4 separate regions of the Homo sapiens genome follow, and all the other regions are linked to region 3. The links are contacts of gene promoters, found by promoter capture Hi-C in blood cells and fetal thymus (Javierre and others, 2016). All regions are on one chromosome and are shown on one strand. Each heading gives the region's core, a stretch centred on a gene start or on the middle of the fragment in contact. The rest is flanking DNA. Distances are from core to core; before and after follow the strand shown.

Region 1 (4,984 bases), core at 1,082-3,581, 300 kb before region 3:
GCAACAAATTCAAACATTTTGGATTTTTCTATATGGATAAGTAAGCCCTGTCTGGGGGCTGAGACTGGACCACAGCTGCCACCTGTGCACCTGACCCACTGTTGGCACTGGGCCATCTGGACAATCCCAGAGGGCTTTACCCTGGGCTAGTGTGGGGTCAGGGCACCTTGAGTTCTAGGCGAAAGGAAAGAGGGTCAGCAGCAGGCACAAAAGCCAGAGGGATGGCTCAAGTATCTGCCTCATATGCCCTCCAGAAGCAAAGGGGACTCTCCACCACCCACATCACCCTCATCTGCGGCCAGTGGAGCAGGCTACAGAAACACAAAAGCGGGGGTTGGTGCAAACCAGGATAACTTTTTTAAGTGAGGTAAAAGGCATGGTATTTGAAAAAATACGCTTAAGGAAGAATTTCCTTTAAGAATTAGGCAAAATCGTTTAAGAAAGCAAATGCAGCAAAAGCGTTCAGCCTCCTGAAGGAAGAATGGCAGAAAAGAAAGGGAGAGAGGAAATCCACTTCTGTTTATGGTTACATCCACTGTTCTAGATGTAATAAAGGAAGACAGTATGGGATTCAAGTCCAAAAGGCAGTGAAAAGGTATCATGGTACAATTTACACTGTACCGTGCCTTACTGTATGTAAAATATAACATACTTCTTGAGGGCTGAGTGAAACCGTAATGAGTACGCTGTGTTAATTACTCAATAATAAACATATTTTGCCATAAAACATTCAGACTCACTGAGGTACAGAGTAAAAGACAATCTATTCATACTGCCCGCTCAGACGTAACTACTCTTAACTACTATTAACACTTCAATATGCAGACTGCCAGTTCTTTTACCATGTGATTATAAAGTTTATCTTTAAAGTAATAGGCTTGGCATGGTGGCTCACACTTGTAATCCCAGGACTTTGGGAGGCCAAAGTGGGTGGATTGCTTGAGCCCAGGAGTTTGAGACCAGCCTGAACAACAGAGTGAGACTGGCTCTACAAAAAATACAAAACTAGTTGGGTGTGGTAGCACGTGCCTATAGTCCCAGCTACTCAGGAGGCTGAGGTGGAAGGATCACCTAAACCTGGGGAGGTCAAGGCTGCAGTGAGACGTGATTGTGCCACTGCACTCCAGCCTGGGTAACAGAGCATGATCCTGTCTCAAAAAATAAAATTAAAATAAAATAAAACTAAAGTAATAAACAGGATCCTATCACATATATGGTGCCTATTACCAGCAGAGTGATTTTTTTTCAAGGGCTTCCAACTCTCTTGTCGTGGTGCATATACTAGAAACCCAGCTCCTTCTCAGGCCTGCAGAACCTGTGAGGCAGCGTCCTGGCCACACTGGTCTTCCTTCTCTTCCTGGAGCATGCCACACTCCCGCACATCTATCTTCAGACCCCTGGCTCCTGCAGTTCCTGCTGCCAAAACCCTCCTTCCCTAGAGCGTCCCTGGGCTGGCTCCTCTCGCCACACAGGTCTGGGCTCCAGTGCCACCTCCAGGGGAGACCTCCCTGACTGCCTGAGATCCCATCCATTCTCTACCACATGCCACTCTCTGTCACATGGCTTTAATTTCTCTTCTTGTCATTTCTTGCCACCTGGAATTGTTGTATGGGTTTGCTTAAATTCTGGCTTTCTTCTGCAAGAAAAGGAAACTGATCTTGTGTTGTTTATAAATGTAGCCCCAACAGCAAGGATAGTTCTCAGCATAGGGTGGACATTTAATAAGTATTTCTTGAATGGGCGAGAGTTTGATTTTTCAACTTACTTTTAAAAAATTTAACAATATGTCAAATTCTTTCCATGGCAGTACAGACAGGTCAAGTTCATTTTTTAAGTAGCTGCACAGGATTCCATAGTGCAAATGGACTGGAATTTGATCTTTTCCATTACTGATGAACATATAGTTCCTTCCAGTTTTTCTCTCCCAAGCAGTGCTGCAATGGAATTCCTTAGATATCTGTGCAGAAGAGCACTGCACCATACATTCTATCTTTGGCCAACTTCATGCCAGTATCTTTTTATTTTTATTTTATTTTTTTTTTTGAGATGGAGTCTTGCTCTGTCGCCAGGCTAGAGTGCAGTGGCAGGATCTCGGCTCACTGCAACCTCTGCTTCCCTGGTTCAAGCAATTCTCCTGCCTCAGCCTGCCGAGTAGCTGGGACTACCAGCACGTGCCACCATGCCCAGATAATATTTTGTATTTTTAGTAGAGATGGGGTTTCACCATATTAGCCAGAATGGTTTTGATCTCTTGACCTCGTGATCCACCTGCCTTGGCCTCCCAAAGTGCTGGGATTATAGGTGTGAGCCACTGCGCCTGGCCCATGCCAACATCTTAAGAAAGTGTTATGTTGGCCGGGCGCGGTGGCTCACGCCTGTAATCCCAGCACTTTGGGAGGCCGAGGCGGACAGATCACGAGGTCAGGAGTTCAAGATCAGCCTGGCCAAGATGGTGAAACCCTGTCTCTACTAAAAATACAAAAAAAAAATTAGTCGGGCGTGGTGGTGGGCACCTGTAATCCCAGCTACTCGGAAGGCTGAGGCAGAGAATTGCTTGAACCTGGGAGGCAGAGGTCGCAGTGAGCCGAGATGGCACCACTGCACTCCAGACTGGGCTACAGAGCGAAACTCTGCCTCAAAAAGAAAGAAAGAAAGAAAGAAAGTGTTATCTCATGATTAATCTTGCAAACTCATCCTTCAAGCCCAAAGTCCCCTCCTCTGTGACTCACCTTGACAGAGTGTCACTCTCTCCCATCCCCTGCAAGCCCAGTGTTCGCTAACTGCTCTGCCTAAGTGGGGTCTATTCATCTTTGAATCTTTAGTGTCAGAGGCCAAAGTGGCCCTCAAAACTGGCTTGACTGAACAATAAAAATAGTTAACATGGATACAGTCAGAACAAATATTCTGAGAATAGCTAACGCTTGCTGAGTTATAATTAGGGAGACTGTTTGATTTGCTGTGGATACCAGGACATTTTTTAGAATAAACGGGGATATTATTAATTCATCATATTGAGACAGAGGGCAAACCAGGACTTCTGGCCACCCCAGCAGTGGCACAGATGCCCCATCAGGACTCTCACTTGCATCGCTCCCCACTCCTCAGCAAAGGCGTCAGGCTGGCCCTTTTGTCTATTTTATAATGAGGAAGTAGAGCATGGGGTGGTTAAGTCTGTAATCTGAGGTTACACAGCCAATAAGAGGTGGAGCTGGGATTCAAATCCAAGTCTGTCTGTTATCCAGCCCCAGTCCTTAGCAACTGTGTTCCCTACATGTGGATTTAGGTAAATAATTCCCACTTCCTAGGAAGAGAATGTCCTGCTCCATGGTCTTGGGAACCACTTGAGATCAGTCCTTTGTGATAGTCAGGAAAAGGGGAGCACACAAAGGAAGGTGAAGACAGCAGAAACCACCCTTTCCATCTGTGCTTTCACAGTGCAATGTGGGGCGTCCACACACCACACAGGGCCATCCTGCCCCTCTCTGAAAACCCTGCGTGACAAATACCCAAAAGGCAAAGTGCGGACAGAGCAGGTTCCCTCACCCAGAGGCAGATCTGGTGTTCCTGGCTTGCACTGCTGTGTGTGGAGCAAGGTCCCTAAGGAAATGAAACCCCTCTCAACAGGAAACACTGCCAGTCTGAAAAGAAGGTAAGAAAAACACTCCCTTATTTTAATCACAGATTCCAAACAGATGCATGAAACACATCTTTGCCAACAGGTACTCAATGATCTTCTCAAGGGGGTAGAGGAACAATTTAGAAAAACAGATGTAAAAATAGCTAGGCTAGAGCCGAATGACTCACAGGTAACGTTTTTGTAAGTGCCAACATTCAGTAAAGAAAGGGAACCTCATGGCAGACACCAGGATGGAATTACCCTGGTGAACTGGTCTGCGATGAAAAACAAAACCCTGAAAATGGTGAGTCCACTCTGCTTCCTCCTTGTGCTGCTCATGCAGCACCCAAGTGTGACTCCGGATAGCGACTGGGTAGAAAAGTTCTGTCAACTGAGTCACTAGAGACCACTGGGCCTTCAGCTTTGCGTCTGAAGAAATTACTGCTACACAGAACACTGTCCTGCTCTACATAACTAGAAAACCTGATACAAGATATGAAACAAAACTATTTTCTGACATGGGACAAAAGATAGGGTAGGACTGTGATTCCTGCCGGAAGGGAGACAAAGGTGGCCACTCTTTCCCTAGGCCCCCTGCTGAGCTGACTGCCTGAGGCTGAGGCTTTAAGAGGGCTGTCCTGTTGAGTCGGGGAAGCTGCACAGAAAGAGAGCTCTTGGACATCTACTGTAAAGTCCCCTTGAGTCTTTGACTGATACTGATCAGTAAATATGTCGGATGAAACAAGAAGCTGGGGAAAGAACCATTAAAAAGAAGTAGGCTGAACAATTCCAGAAGCTGACATGGGTGGGAATAGTTTGCGTTCCCACCAGCCAGAGTGGAGTGAGCTCACGGTACCTGAGACACCTTAGTTAGGGCCCTGCTACTCTGCACCAGCCCTAAAAAAGTTTAAATGTAAGCCTCAAGAAGGATTAAACTGATGTCAAGAGACTTAGATACGTGCCAGAAGAAAAGTCCAGAAATAACACACACACACAAAAAAAATTGTTTTTAAAAGAAAAGTCCAGAACTCCGTAAAGGAATACAATAAAATCTTGTGCTCAACAACATAAAACTTCACAATGACTGACATCCAATCAAAACTTAATAACAAGCAAAGAGCAAGAAAATGTGACCTATAAGCACAAGAAAAATCAACAACAAAACAGACCTACAGTTGACAGAGATGACGGAATTAGCAAACAAGGACATTAAAACAGCTATCAGAAATTTCTATGTTTCATATGCTCCAGAATATAGAAGAAAACATGAACATGATGAAGAGAGAAATGGAAGAAATGAAAATAACCTAAAGGGATCTGCTGTAGATGAATTATAAAATATGTAAATGAGAAATACGCTGGGTAGGA
Region 2 (5,054 bases), core at 196-2,695, 330 kb before region 3:
TCTCCGTGGTGACTGCATCAGTTTGGACCCTCACCTGTTTCCCTAGGGGCCTTCAAGTCACTCCATCTAATGCACTGCTCCTCTAGTTCTGGTCAAAGAACATGTGTGTTCCTTATTATTGACTTAATAAATATTCTTTATGAGAGAAATAGAAAGTATATGCAAACAGCAAGATTTTAAAAGTTACCTATAATCGGCCAGATGCGGTGGCTCATGCTTATAATCCCAGCACTTTAGGAGGCTGAGGTAGGTGGATCACTTGAGGTCAGGAGTTTAAGACCAGCCTGAACAACATGGTGAAACCCCGTCTCTACTGAAAATACAAAATTAGCCAGGCGTGGTGGCAGGGGCCTGTAGTCCCAGCTACTTGGGAGGCTGAGGCAGGAGAATCTCTTGAACCTGGGAGATGGAGGTTGCAGTGAGCGAAGATCGTGCCACTGCACTCTAGCCTGGGCAACAAGAGCAAAACTCCATCTCAAAAAAAAAAAAAAATTTACCTATAATCCTTCCACTTGGAGAGAACCAAAGTTAAGTTAAAACTCTATGTCTATCCTTTAAGATTTTTTTCCTGTATACACATACTGCTAATTTAATTTATAGAGCCACATCTATTGATATGGTTCTGAAATCTGCTTTTCTCAGTTCATGAAGTTATAACAGCATTATTTCTGTTGTAACAAAATACCCAACCAGAAATGGCAGATACAGAACATGTATTGCCCCATGTCATGAGATCCAGAGGGAGGTCAGTTCCAGGACTGGTTAATTAACTGCTCCAGCAGTGTCCTTGACAACATACAAGCCTTCTGTCTTTCTGCTCTGCCATCCTCAGCATGGTGGCAAGGTGTTCCCTCCTGGTCTCCAAATGGCTGCAGCAGGTGGAGGCATTACATCCTCAAGTAATGGGAGGCAAAGGTCAGACAATGGGAAGAGAACATGTCCCTTCCTTGAGTGTCTTTTTGAGAGTAAGGAAAGTTTTAGAAATTCCTCAAAAGATTGCTTCAGGCCAGGCGCGGTGGCTCACACCTGTAATCCCAGCACTTTGGGAGGCCGAGGTGGGCGGATCACCTGGGGTCAGGAGTTCGAGACCAGCCTGGCCAACAGGGCAAAACCCCATCACTACTAAAAATACAAAAATTAGCTGGGCATGGTGACGGGCACCTGTAATCCCAGCTACTCAGGAGGCTGAGACAGGAGAATCGCTTGAACCCACGAGGCGAAGATTGCAGTGGCCGTGAGCTGAGATGGTGCCACTGCACTCCAGCCTGGGCGACAGAGCGAGACTTCGTTTTTTTTTGTTTTGTTTTGTTTTGTTTTGTTTTTTTTAATCGCTTCATTCTCCTGCCAAATAAGGTCACAGACCCATTCCTCAGCCAATCTCAGACAAGTAGAGGGAATGACCAGGAACAACCTGAACCGAGAACTGGCTCTGTTTCCCCTTGAAGCATACAGTCACCCATTACACGAACCACATGGGTTCTCTTAGCAAAGACAACAGGGCTCGGGGAAGAAGTGGTGGTTGAAAGGAACCACCAGGTCTTCCATATTAGGGATGAATGGGTGCGCGCTGGAGTGCCAGTATGTGTATTTGTATAAAAGGATGTACTAAAATTTCTACTTTCGTTTTTAGTCATTTTAAAATCTCAAACAGCATTTAAGGAGAGGGTGAAATGTTTCTCTCTCCCTAAAGGTGGTAAAATGCTGGTCTGATAACATTCTAAACATTTTTCCACATCCTTAGAATCTTGAGCTGTTGGTAAATATTCTATCATCATTTATCTCACCAGTCCCTCATTCATGGACAAGGAAGTTGTTTTCCATTTATCCTCATTCAGATATTGCCGGGATGACCATTCTTGGAGTGCGGTTTTCATGCACTTTCCTTTTGCCCCATGAGTGGAACTGCTGGGCCGTTTTCAGGCTTTGGAGAGCTGTCACCACAGTGTCCTCTGGAGAGTGTGAGCCAGCTGCCCTCCCACCAGCAGATAGGAGCGTATGGCTCATCTTCGCCACAAAATGAACCAACTACATTTTTGTGCCCTTTTTTTTCTGTAAGCAAAGACTTATTTTCTTCCCCATTTACATCAGGGTATTAGCTGGCAGCTGCCTGTATGCGCAGAGGTTCCTTCTGTCCCCAGCACCAGACTGGTCCCAACTGATGCTAAGACCCCCCAGGTCTGCCAGGCGGCCTCCCCAGGCAGGGGGAGTGTGGCTGATGCCTGCCTGCTCTCCTGCAGGTCCATAAATATTCACAAAGAGGACCCTCATTTACGGGGCACTTACTGTCACCCAGGGCCTTGAGATGACTGTACTGGCCCCTGGCCCCTGACCCCCACTGCCCTTCATGTCTCACATCTTCTCTGGCTAGAGCCAGAGGGCTGTGTTGTCCCTTGCTTGGGGTGGGGGGGTTGCCTCCAAGAGGCAGTGGGGCCCCGCTCCAGGCCAGCTTCATTCCCCTAGTGCCCTGTGGAATAATAAGCGGGGGTTACAGGACCCTCAACTTTGTGTGTGACCCTCCAACCCCCCGCCAGCTTTCTAGCCTCTAAGGAAAATATTTCTTGCCTCGATTGCTCCCCTCTACCCTGAGAGCTTTTTTTAGGAGTTGAGAAGGTTGAAATACAAATGAAACATACCCTGTTCCGTGGGAACGAGGTGCCCACTCAGGACCACCCCCCACCTTTGCTGCCAGCACTCCGTTCCGTCCCAGCTGACACTCTGCTCAGCACAGCGCAGCTCCACTTCCCAGCCGCCCTCGCAGGCAGGGCTGGCCTGGAAAATTCTGCTGTTAGCCAGAGTCCTTATCACTCTCGTGGTGCCTCCCTGACACTGAGGCCAAGTGTCAGCTACCACTTCTCATCACACTTGCAGTTTTTATTATGGTGGAGAAATATTTCTCTGAATCTGGGTTTCCACCAAAAGCGGGCCACGGGGAGCCCACTGTGGCCTCGGGAGTCTCCCCTGGGGTGGGCTGAAGCACAGTGTGGGAAGGAACCAGGAAACTCAGCTCTTGCCCCCTGGCTGGGGCCAGGACAGCTTCTCCTGACTGGTTTCATTTTACATCACATGCATTTTTGGTTCGTGCCTGTTACCTTCAGCAGCTTGGATGCCTTTGGAAGTACGTGGGGGTATAGATGAACTCACGACCCTTCTTGCCCCACATGCCACCACTTCTGATCAGAGGCTATGGATGCCCCCGCTCCTGCGGCAGGGCAGGTTCAGTGACAGAATTTCCCCATTTCACCATCAGGCAAAGGCCTGTGGGGGACTGATCTGTAAGCCCCGAGCAGGAGGTCAGGCGGCCCTGCAGCCTGGGCGAACAGCCAGCGAACCCAGGGAGGAAGGGCTCCCAGCATCGTGAGGAGAAGCTGAGCCTGGCTGGGGGCTGAGCTTCACATGCTCCTCACTGAGGGCCAAAGGTAGGAACCAGACGCAGGCCAGCCTGACCCAGCCCTGCTCCTAAGCACTGTACTTCCTGGTGACATGGCTGCCACCGGCCCAGGGGCTGGGTAGCTGTGTGCCACAGAGCCCAGTCTAGGAGGTGTGACCTGTGCATCTGCAAAGCCACCTGAACATGAACACAGACACTGGCTCCAATTCAGCAGCATACACTTTATTTCTAAATAGGCATCCAGTGACACGACTGTTCATACATCTATTCCTGACTCCCTTAAAGAGTCCAACGAGATGACGCAGGGGCTCCTGCATGGCAGCCACAGGTCCCCCATCTCTGACCCGCCTTCCCCTCCCAGCCCAAAGCCCCACCAAGAAGAGCAGCACATCACTGCTCAGGAAACAGGGGCCTAACAGGGGCCTCTTGCAGCTCACTTGGGGGAGAAAAATGAGTAAGTCTGGCCTTCATAATGCTTCTTAAAACAAAAACCCAGCACTCGTCATTTTTACAAAGGAAATGATGAAAAGGAATGTAAGATTCACATCCATCTTGAGGACAATTCAAGCTTCGTCATTTTGAGGACGATTCAAGATTTGCAGATCCTTACTTGGAGAAACCGTCAAAGCCTTTGGTGTAAGCCAGGCCATGCCCACCATGCAGGTGGAAGCAGGGAGGCCTCCCCATCCCAGCCTGAGGCTCTGGTTCCGCAGGGCTGGCAGCTGACTTTTGACCACGGATGCACATCTTCCCATCCAATCACAGGCCCACTGCTCACCAGCACTTCGCGCTCACTCCGAAGCCAGTGAAGCCCCCGCAGAGCAGCCGGGGAGACCAACTCAAGGGCACCAGAGGCCACAGCAAGAAAATAGCTCGGGAGAGGGGGATGGGATGGGGCAGGGGGTGTGTGTTAGTCTTCCTCCTTCTGTTACATGCCTGGTAACAGTGAAGCCCCTCAATGTCTAACTGTTGGACAACTGTTTGGGAAACGGCAGGAGACTAAATGGAAGGGGGCTGGCTCTTTATTCTCGAGGCCTTTATCTTGACTGTGAGATGGAGGGCGTGAAATGGAGGGCGTTAGACAGAGGACCCGGGGCTGTGGAGATGCCTTCCCGAGGACTCTGCTTCATGACTCCGCATCAGGAAGCTCAGGGTTTCCTACCCGCCCCCAGCAAGGGCAGCAAACACTGGCTCTCACTCGGCAGGGAATGCGGGGGGTGGAGGGGGGCCTTTTCTCTTCTGCATGTGAAATCCTTGTCAGTGGCAGCAAACGGCCACTGAGCTTCTCCCCACACAGGAATCAGGCAGCAGTTCCAGCCCTGAGCCACCCCAGGCCACACCCACACCCCAGCCTGCCCCATCCTCAGCAGAAGTGGCCTGGCCTCGGCTACCCTGCTGAGGACTCTCCAAGCATGTGCGCCCTGCGGGAACACGGACCTGAGACTTCATGAGGCCAAGCCCTGCCGATGGCACCTTTGCCAAAGGTTTTAAGAAGGGTCCCCAGTCACCCATCTTTCAGCATTCCATGGCACACAAAGGAATCCTGTGGGCTAACCTGGGCGACTCTGGCGCTCAGGCCTACCCCTTGGCCTCATGCCAGCCAGCCCAGCCCAGCTCACCCACTGTGAAGAGGGGTGGCTGGCTTAGGGTAGGGGCCGAGAGGGCT
Region 3 (4,839 bases), core at 1,387-3,886:
CTGGAAGGTGCCCACCTCAGGACAAATCACTAGCAAAGGTGGATTTCCTGGACCAGCTCAGACCCATGGTGGGTCATTCTCTGGGAAGGGGGCCTGGCCACCTTCCTAAACATATGCCGACTCCTGAACAAATCCAGGAAGAACCAGAGGCTCACATTCATCTCCCTTTGGTGTGTGAGCAGCTGCCTCTCCTTCCCTGGGAGGATTTTGTCTATGGGTCGAGAAGGGAAGAGAGTATCTGGAAGAGATATTTGTATTGAGGTGATATTGGTCTGCACTGAAGCCAGGGGTGGGGAGTAGAAGAACTAATATTTATTGAGTACCTATTGTATACCAGACCCTGTGCTGGGTGATTTCATTCTCTTTTCATTTAATTCAGTTCTCAAAGCAGCCCCATGAGGAAGGAACTGTTCTTCCCATTTTTCAGATGGGAAAATTGAGACCAAGCCTGATCACAGATAATGGAGAGGAGCGGAACTGGTATAAGCGCTAATTGCGGTTAACTTTCCCTGATGCTCATGGTGTGACAGGCACTCACATAGGTGTGCCCCATGGACCAGGTCGTTTGTTCCTGACCTCAACTCCATGAGGTTCTCTTTTCCCCATTCTGTCAATGAGGAACCTCAGCTTAGGGAGGTGGAGCAGTCTGCTTGGGGTCACAAAGCTGAGGATCGGCCAAGCCCAGCTGTGAACCCCACTGCTAGCAGACAGCCCTTTGGAGCTCCCCAAATTTGGAGAAAATCCTCTGGACCCGTTCTATGGCCTTCTTGGGATTGTTGGCTTCTCTGGCAGATAAGCTGGAAAAATAAACAAGAGGATCAGAAAACTCCTTTTGCCTCCTGCTGTTCTGAATCTGCTGAGGCCACAAGGGGGTCATCCAGCTGCCTCGACAGCCAACATTAAGCAGGCAAATGAATGAATCTTGAGTATGATAGCAGGACATGTGAAGTACTGCCAGAAAAAAAAACTATCAAAAAAACAAAGAAACAAAAATCAGTAAGAGGAGATGACTGTTTTAGACCAGGTGGCCAAAGACAGCTTCTCTGCAGTGACAGCTGAGCAGAGATAGAGGCACCGGGGAGGTGGTGGAAAGAGCAGGCTGTGCGAAGAATGCTCCGAACAGAGGGAACAGCACGTGCAAAGGCCCTGCAGTGGGACCTCTAGGGAAAGATGGGGAGATCAGTGTGGCTGGAGCAGAGTGGGTGAGGGAGAGAGTCGGGGGCATAGGGTCAGGCAGGTAAAGGTGAGAAGGGGCGGATCATGCTGGTTCTCGAAGGGCCTTGTCAGGACCCTGGCTGATAAGGATGGAAGCCAGGAGACCAGGAGGAGCAACAGCTTCTCCAGAGCTCTGCTGGGACTATGGAATGAAACGTGCCTAAGCTCACCCGGCACTGAATGGGTGGATACAGGACTAGAACAAGACCTCCTGGGTCTTACCTCCAGGTTCAGCCCATGGTTTCATAAAACTTAGTGTGCCAAGCACTCAACAGTTTGTGATTCCTTTTAGTGTCAAGCTCTCATCACTTCCTCACAACAGCCCCAGAGGTAAGCACAACTCTGCCCTCCCTGTTTCCAGATAATGAGGTGAGCTCAGAGAGGTTGAGCTACCTGCCCAACGCTTCCCAGGGTGGGAATGGGGATGGTGGGGGCAGGGGCGTGGAGTGAGGCTGGATTGACCCCCAGTTCTCATCAGCACCCTGGGGTGGTACATTGCAGAGCCGCGGGCACAGGGGGCTGGCACCCCAAGCACCAGGTAGCGATGACAATGGCCACCACATCCGGAGGCCCTAACGTGCACCAGGTAGAGGGTGCATACTTCACGGGCACTATCTGTCCCCAAAGCAGGTGAGGATGAGGGGACTCCCTGAGACACCCTTGTACCCCCTGCCCAGTAGTTACTGAAGATACTATAGGGTGCGATATAATCCAGACCAGCCCTCCCAGCCCAGACCACAGAATGGAAAACTCCAGGTCCCCAGCACGCCTGGGGTGGGGGATGGGGTGAGGAGGAGCCTTGGGGGGTTTCCTCTGTCTAGGTGGAATGTGGAATGTGGTGGGAAAGCTCCTCCTGACCCCCTTACACTCCTCCTCCATGTTCGTCCCCTCCCACCACATTTTCTCCTCCCACTGTGCCCCCTCCTCCCCATACCTCCTTGGCTGTTTCCCCATCGTCCCGCCGTCTTCCCACATTCCCTCCTCTTCCCTTCCCCAAAAGTCCTCTCCCATCTTCCCCATCCCTCTTCCCTCCCCGCATATAATCTCTTCCTTCCTGTAAATCCTCTCCCTCTCCCCTCCCTTCCATCACCCCCCAGTCCACCACATCCCCCTCAGTCCCCCATCTATCTCCTTTCCCCTTGATCACTCCCCAGCCCACCACATCCCTTCCGCCCCCTCCCCCTCCCCCTCCTTCTCCCCTCCCCTCCCTCCCACATTTTCCATCAGGCCTGAGCTGGGGGGAGCAGGGTTTCTAACAGAGCGCCCCGGTCCGACCCCTGCGGACCTCGGAGGGCCCCATCCCCCACCCCCCCCACCCCGCCCCAAAGCGGGCTGGGGTGGGCGGAGTGGGAGGGGCGCGCCGGGTGGGGGCGGGGAACTTTACCTGGGAGTGGGCCAGGCCGCCAGCCCCGCCAGCCCCGCCAGCCCCGCCAGCCCCGCGATGGCTTGGGCCGCGCTCCTCGGCCTCCTGGCCGCACTGTTGCTGCTGCTGCTACTGAGCCGCCGCCGCACGCGGTGAGTGTCCTGCTCCGCTCGGCCCCGCCAGACAAAGGGGGCGGCTCCCGCCCGGGCTGCAGCCCAAGGGTCTCGGAGCCCGCGGCCGGCCCGGCCCGAGTCCCGCTCCAGTATCCCGGGCAAGGCGAGACCCTCGGAGGTGGGAGTCCCGGGGCCCCGCACGTGGGTGAGGGGGCCAGGCCGTGCTCCCCCTGCCAAGAAGGTGCAAGGTGGGAAGGTGCGGGGTCCGGTAGGTCCCCCGGGGCGAATCGCCCACCGCGACAAGTCCGAGTCTGGCCCTTAGCGCGACGGCAGGGACCTAGGAGGGGGTTTCAGGTGAGGACCGAGGGTTTGTGGGTGGGGAGCCGTGCGGGGACAGCCTCTGCGTGGCCCGGGTGGAAGAAGCGCTCTCCACTCTCCAGCCTCTGCCTGCACCTGGCACCCACCTACGCGCTGTCAAACCCTGCCTTGCTTTCGGCAGTCCTATAGGGATAGCCTCGCTCCTCAACCCATTACACAGATGGGAGTGTTGAGCCAGCGGAGTGTAGAGCCCCTGGGGGATGTCTTGATCATGCCCTGGAACCACCCACCCCGGGATTCCCCGTCTGGAAGACGGGGGTCGGTGGGCTTAGTAATTTCATTTGCCAGGGAGAAACTGAGGCCTATGAAGTCTCTACCTTCCCCTGAGGTCCCACAGCCTGGACAGAACGGAGCCAGGGTCAGATGTCACAGCCTCCTGGTCCCAAAGGTTTTCCAGCTCCATTGAGCATCTGTGATTTAGGAGAAAAAGTAAAGACAGCCTCAAATCAAGGAGATAGCTGTAGCTCTCCTTTTCATAAAATATTTTTTAAGTTAACTTGAATTGCATAAGGAATAGCTGAATACATTCGACTTAACACAAATATTTATCCTGTTATAGGTAAGACCGAAGCCCCTTAACCCTCCCCCAGCCCCTGAAGTCTAGTCCTCTCTCCCTCTCTGGGCCTCTCCTGTTGCTGAGTCTGGGTAGAACCTTCCATATTTAAAAAAATATACTTTTTATTTGAGACTAGTTTGGGATTTACAGAAAGTTGCAAAGATAGTACAAAAAGTTCCTGTATTTCTCTCACCCCGTTTTCCCTATTGTTAACATCTTACATTGTTATGGGACATTTGTCGCCACTAAAAACCAACACTGGTCCGTTACTCTTAACTAAACTTCAAACTTCACGGGATTTTATCCAGTTTCCCATTACTGTCCTCTTTTGTTCCAGGATCCGGCCCCAAGTTACCACATTGCCTTTAGTTTTCATACCTCCTCAGTCTCCCAGATGTTTTAAAAATTACTCTTACATAAAAATTACTCTTACATACATAGACATGAGCTTGTAGCTAATACAGAGCCACGTAAGAGAGAGTTAGTTTACATTCGTGTCTGAAAATTCCGGAAACCTTGGGAACTTTTTGATTTTTAAACAATATGGTAGTTGAATTTTCAAACAATAAGCTCACTGTATTTTTCTTCAACCTCCAGACATCTTTTCAGCTGAAATTTACAACTGTGTAGTCAATCATTTGCCTTAAAACAAGAAAAGAAAAAGACAGTGAATAAATGTCTCAGGGAAGAAATGAATTATTTTTCCTGTCAGGCTTTCTCAATACACTGTATAGAAATGTTTTCAGACATTATGTTGCTTGCTCTTTTCACTCCAGATTTTAGTTTTGACATCTGTTCTTTTTGCTACAAGCAGATCTTTTTGCTACAAGGAGATCGAATCCATTCTTTTGATCCTCTCTGGAGTCTTCCATCATGTGAATACGTTATGGGCTCTTTTTTTGTTTGTTTGTTTGTTTGAGATGGATCTTCCCTCTTGTTGCCCAGGCTGGAGTGCAATGGCACGATCTCGGCTCACCGCAACCTCTGCCTCCTGGGTTCAAGTGATTCTCCTGCCTCAGCCTCCCCAGTAGCTGGGATTACAGGCATGTGCCACCATGCCCAGCTAATTTTTGTATTTTTAGTAGAGACAGGATTTCTCCATGTTGGCCAGGCTGGTCTCGAACTCCTGACCTCAGGTGATCTGCCTGCCTCGGCCTCCCAAGGTGCTGAGATTACAGGCGTGAGTCACCGCGCCCTGCTGAGCCTTTGATTTT
Region 4 (4,895 bases), core at 584-3,083, 280 kb before region 3:
CTCTAACCAGTTGCCCCCAAAACAAGTGGAAGGTTTGAATACTGTGATACCTTCCTTTACTGGGCATTTCTTTTTATTTGCAAAATACCTACCAAACACAGGACATCAGTTCTGCTTTATTTCCAGCTCTCATGGAATAGGACTACTTGTTTATGTATCAAAACTGTCTTACAACAAAAGCTCCAAAATTGTCCTGGGCTGGGGTGGGTGGTGAGTGGAGGTAGAAATAGAATTGGATTTGTTATCAGAGACACAGTTCCCATGAAAAGGGTTCCCAGATTCTAGTCCCAAGTTGCTAAACTGCTGCTAAATCCTGAAAGCTCTGACTGGCCCCATGGCAAGGATCTGGGGACGAACATGTGACCCTGCTGCCCAGCTCCCCAGCCATGTCACAAGACCAAATGCAGACACACTGAGCAAGGCTGTCTGCTCTCAGAGGGGGGAACCCAGACTATGCTCAGCATGGGCACTTTTTCAGCACTAGATCTGGTACCTTCTGAGAGACAACTGCCTCAACCTAGTGAGGTTGCTTCTCACTATGCAATTCTGGGAAATCCTGGATGGGGCTCATGGGAAGTGCTCACGGGAGTGGCTTCAGATGGAGGGGCTTTCTACAATAACCACAATAGAGGTCTTGGCCCTGCTTCCCCCACCACAGGCTTCGTGGGAATCCCAGAGGAAAGTTTCTCCGTCACTCCCCCTCTCCATCTCTAATCTGTCAAGAAGACTTTTTGTTACGGCGACTGAAAAGTCTTGTAAATAAGAAGACAATGGTACAGTGTACGCGTGCACACAGGCAGGGCAGTTAGCTGAGCAGAGTTACTCCCTCCCAAGCTTAAACTAAATCATTCCAATCAGCAATGCCCCACTAGGGATCTTCAAAAGTCTTTAGGATACTTTTGATTCATTTCAGAGATACAAATTAACTCAGAGTAAGATTCTATGGCAGAAATCCTTACCAAAAATAAATACACAGAGAGAGAATAGAACAGTACCACACCCAGGAAGCAATGTGGAGAAACATTTCCCCTGTCTGAAAAGCAGTCGCATGGGTGTTACAGTATGAAGGATTTACCTGTCTGTCATGTTGAGTTTAGAGATTACATCAGCCTGTAAAATAAAACACACAAACACACAGACACACACAAAAAAAAAACCCTGGAGAACAGCCAAGATTTAAATGTCCATTAGTGCTTTATTAAAACTAATAAGGACATTAATCTTCAGTTCCCAAACCACTTGAAAAATAAAAGCTCCTAAGCCTTAGTTGAAACATGCATTCCATCGGCATGCAACGAGAGTATGGAAAAGAATGCTACATTCTTCAAGCCCAATTAACTGTAGTTTCCTTAAGTTTATTCTTACTTAATACTAGAAGCTGAGCAATGAAGAAAGCTGCATGACAGACAGATTTATTCTGGTGCCATCAAAGCTGCAATATAGGTGAAAATCCAATGGAATGGGCTTTGGCTATTGAGAGAAGAAAGCAGCTGATGTGTTAAAGAAATCTGCCCGTCACTCAGATACCTGACCCTCAACTTAATTTTCAGAACTGAGACAGGCAAACTTTCTGCAACTGACAATAAAGGAAAAGAATGTGACATGCATGGACATGCATAATACAAAACTACAGATACTACCTTCCTAGGGATGTTTGGTCTAAATTAATTTGAAGTCTAAAGTAGAGACCACCCAACTGGTGCCACTGGGAAGTGGTTTAGCAATTGTGGAAAATCCAGAGTATATAATTCTACAGGTAGACAGCTTAGAATTGAGTGAAGAGATTCAGCATCACCTTTGATTTTATTATTTCTCCAATGCCAGCAGAAAAGCACATCTTTGATTTTTTAAATACAAATTTTTATCAAAAAACAGCATTCAACCCCAATTCAGTCTACTTGACAACACAGTTTGAAGTTCTTGATGGCATATATTTGGCTTCATTTTTAGGTATTCTAATTTAAGACAGTATTGGTTTGCAAATAAACTCAAATACTTTGGGGGGGATTATGGAAAAGTTTTACTCAATTCCAGATACCAAAGGTCTTGGAGGACACTTTGAAACAATTTAGCACGCCTCTACTGTGCCTCATATGAAGCTAGGATTTCCTTCCAGAAGGAATTTACCTTAAGGGTGAAACCCAGGCCCCACAAAGTGGCCCCATTTCACCTTCCCACCTCCCTGCACTAGCTCTAAGAATGTAAGACTTTCAAAGTGTTTCAAAGATGATTTTCTTACCTGACCCAGAAAATAAATTCCTCCACCTACTACAAAAGCGGAGATTGCCGTCCCAAAAACAGCAAACAGGGTGATGGAACCAATATTTTGAAAGAAGTTACCCTGTTTGAAAGAGCAGAAATCAGGGAAATGATTAGAAAAGCCATTCCTGTCAGTGAAGGCACGGCCTGCACACCTGGCCCTCCGTGCAGACTTGATTCTCTGTAAAAGGCACCACTGCCCAACCTGTGTGGCAAGCTGGGAGCCCGGGAGTCTTCCTGCACCCCCGCACTTACTGCAGTGTCCCGTCACTCACACCATCTTTCATCTGAAACACTGCATAGCTTCGCACAAGTCTCCTCAACCCCCCAGGGCCCCTTTCCCTCCACTCTCCCGTCTTTCCAGAATGATCTTCCCAAAAGACAAATCTGATTGTGCTGCCTTCACCTGGACCCCTATTTCCACTTAAAATGCAGCTAGCCCCCACCCTGAATGATTCGACTCCTGGGGAGGCCTCTGGGCTCATCTGGCACCATGCTCGCCTTTGTTCTCTGGGTTCCAGTCCCACTGGTGGCTTCGAGCAGGTTGTGCTCCCTCTTTGCTTGTTAAGCTTTCATCATCCCAAGATCTCAGGACATTTCAACTCTTCCCAGATCCTAGTCTGTGCTCTCAGTGCACAGTCACCCTCTCTTGTAGCGGTTGACAAGACTGCAATTTTGCACTTATTTATGTACTGATGTCTTACTTTCCCATGAGGCTGCAGGCTCATTCTGGGCAATGACCCCACCTGCTTTCGCACAACACGGTCCCTGACATAATGCCCGTCAGATGGAAGATGCCCAACAGACAGGCACTGAAGGAATTAACTGTGTTTCACATCCAAAGTCCACACTATTAGGATACCAAGATACACTATCAGATATTCCTTTTTCCTGGCCAGGTCTTTTAAACAATTTTACTTCACTCTATTAGTATCATCATTAACTATGTCAGATAAAATGTTTCTATCTATACTTCACAGCGTTTAAGATAAAATATTCAAGTTCAAGCAGCATGGTAGCATCTTTCAAATTTCCATAAAATTAAGGAAATTAAGCTATTTATTATAACCCTATGAACTCCACTTAGGAGCTACCAAGAGTCTTTGATCACCCCCGATTGTGGTTGTGAACAAGAATCTTGTTTTTAGCTCAGAAATCACCAAACCATGGACATCAAGACCTGCTATTTTAAAGCCCACTTGTGAAAGAGTGTCCTCAGCTGAACACTGACTGCCCCACTAAGCCCACCTCCTAGAAGCTGCAATTTTGACTTGGCTGCCTATCATCTGACATTCAATTCCTTTGTTTGGCATATCAATCTTTACTGCACAAAGAATTTTAAAACACAATGATTTGGTTTTTCAAAACAAAGGGCTTTCAATCTATGAGTTGCTCTTTGCAAATCGCTGTTTTCTTTTGTTATTTAAAAACAGATTAGACTGGGCTCGGTGGCTCAAACCTGTAATCCCAGCACTTTGGGAGGCCAAGGCGGGTGGATCATCTAAGGTCAGGAGTTCGAGACCAACCTGACCAACATGGAGAAACCCCATCTCTGCTAAAAATACAAAATTAGCTGGTGTGGTTATAGACGCCTGTAATCCCAGCTACTCGGGAGGCTGAGGCAGGAGAATCGCTTGAACCCAGGGGGCCGAGGTTGCAGTGAGCCGAGTTCGCAGTGAGCCGAGTTCGTGCCATTGCACTCCAGCCTGGGCAACAAGAGCAAAACTCCATCTCAAAAAAAAAAAAAAAAAAACAGATTAATCAGTTTTGACCTGTTTGCAGAGATCTAATGTTGATATAATTTATATATTTGGTTAATATTAATCTGGATCCTGAACATTTACCCAAGTTAAAGTTACCATAATACAAGAACTTCCCTCTGCTACATAAAGCAAATTTATCTGTTTCTCTCTGACATAATTAACATCCTGTGATTTGTGTAATATTTGCAATTCAAAGAACCAGTTGCTGCCTAGCTAATGCATATCAACTGATGATAATCTTACTGTAATCTGTATTCTAAATCCAAATTTACATTAGCAGATATCATAATATTAAAATAAAATATTCAAACTTTACTTCCTATCATCTTTGGGCGAGGGTAGAAAGTGGATAGAAGTTTCAGAAGTAGCATTTCATAATCCTATCAGTCCCTTTCATATAAATTGTCACATTTCCTGCTGGAAAGTCATCTTCAACAAAATGTTTCTCTAAAAAACTATTACTTTCCTCAAATTTTGAACAAGTTTCTCTCCCCTCTAAAAAAAAAAAAAAAAAAGAAAAGAAAAACTTTACATGCTCTAATATTCAAAATGTCATGTTTTTAAGTCAAAATCAAGTCAATTTCCTCAGCATGTTTTGAAATATTTTCATATCTGCTTACAGTTAAGATTTGTTTACAAAGTGAAAGGAAAGACATGGTGACCTTCAACTTATGTTTCCTTGTTAAAAATTATCTGATGTCACTAACAGTTTGTAAGACTTGTGAATATTTTTTACATTAAATTTCCTTTTCACTTTTTCTTTGGATAGATGCACAATAAAATAATAACTTAAAAAAAAATCTGGGCTGAACATCTTAATATGCTTTTGTTTTAGTACAGGAAAATTAAAGACTTAATTTCTATGTTTTTACC

The links. Contacts are between HindIII fragments. The CHiCAGO score rates a contact against its expected background, and 5 or more counts as called.
Region 1: a fragment that was not itself captured here is called in contact with the fragment with the promoter of PTGIS in region 3 in 3 of 17 cell types (erythroblasts, monocytes and naive B cells); the score reaches 6.6 in erythroblasts.
Region 2: a contact is called between a fragment that was not itself captured here and the fragment with the promoter of PTGIS in region 3, in 3 of 17 cell types (erythroblasts, M0 macrophages and megakaryocytes). The highest score is 7.7, in erythroblasts.
Region 4: a contact is called between a fragment that was not itself captured here and the fragment with the promoter of PTGIS in region 3, in 6 of 17 cell types (endothelial precursors, M0 macrophages, activated CD4 T cells and 3 more). The highest score is 6.8, in endothelial precursors.

The regions. Positions count from the first base shown.
Region 1 is chr20:49,866,891-49,871,874 of GRCh38, reverse strand. All of the region lies in intron 10 of SLC9A8 (solute carrier family 9 member A8), which reads right to left. Among named protein-coding and RNA genes, the nearest start is that of MIR12122, 5.5 kb to the right of the region's middle. RefSeq lists enhancers at 3,726-3,775, 4,016-4,125. The HindIII fragment of the contact is 5,734 bases long and covers 1-4,984 here.
Region 2 is chr20:49,890,778-49,895,831 of GRCh38, reverse strand. It overlaps SLC9A8 (solute carrier family 9 member A8), which reads right to left. Exons shown (of 16, transcript NM_015266.3): 16 at 3,590-5,054. Among named protein-coding and RNA genes, the nearest start is that of SPATA2, 22 kb to the left of the region's middle. RefSeq lists enhancers at 1,096-1,265, 4,897-5,054. The HindIII fragment of the contact is 5,027 bases long and covers 1-3,958 here.
Region 3 is chr20:49,565,934-49,570,772 of GRCh38, reverse strand. It overlaps PTGIS (prostaglandin I2 synthase), which reads left to right and starts at 2,636. Exons shown (of 10, transcript NM_000961.4): 1 at 2,636-2,730. The coding sequence starts at 2,657. LOC101927486 (a long non-coding RNA gene) reads right to left here and starts at 2,729. Exons shown (of 2, transcript XR_244188.4): 1 at 2,600-2,729. RefSeq lists enhancers at 1,105-1,719, 1,720-2,336. The HindIII fragment of the contact is 14,656 bases long and covers 1-4,839 here.
Region 4 is chr20:49,847,025-49,851,919 of GRCh38, reverse strand. It overlaps SLC9A8 (solute carrier family 9 member A8), which reads right to left. Exons shown (of 16, transcript NM_015266.3): 6 at 2,240-2,341; 7 at 1,076-1,110. Among named protein-coding and RNA genes, the nearest start is that of MIR12122, 14 kb to the left of the region's middle. The HindIII fragment of the contact is 1,994 bases long and covers 837-2,830 here.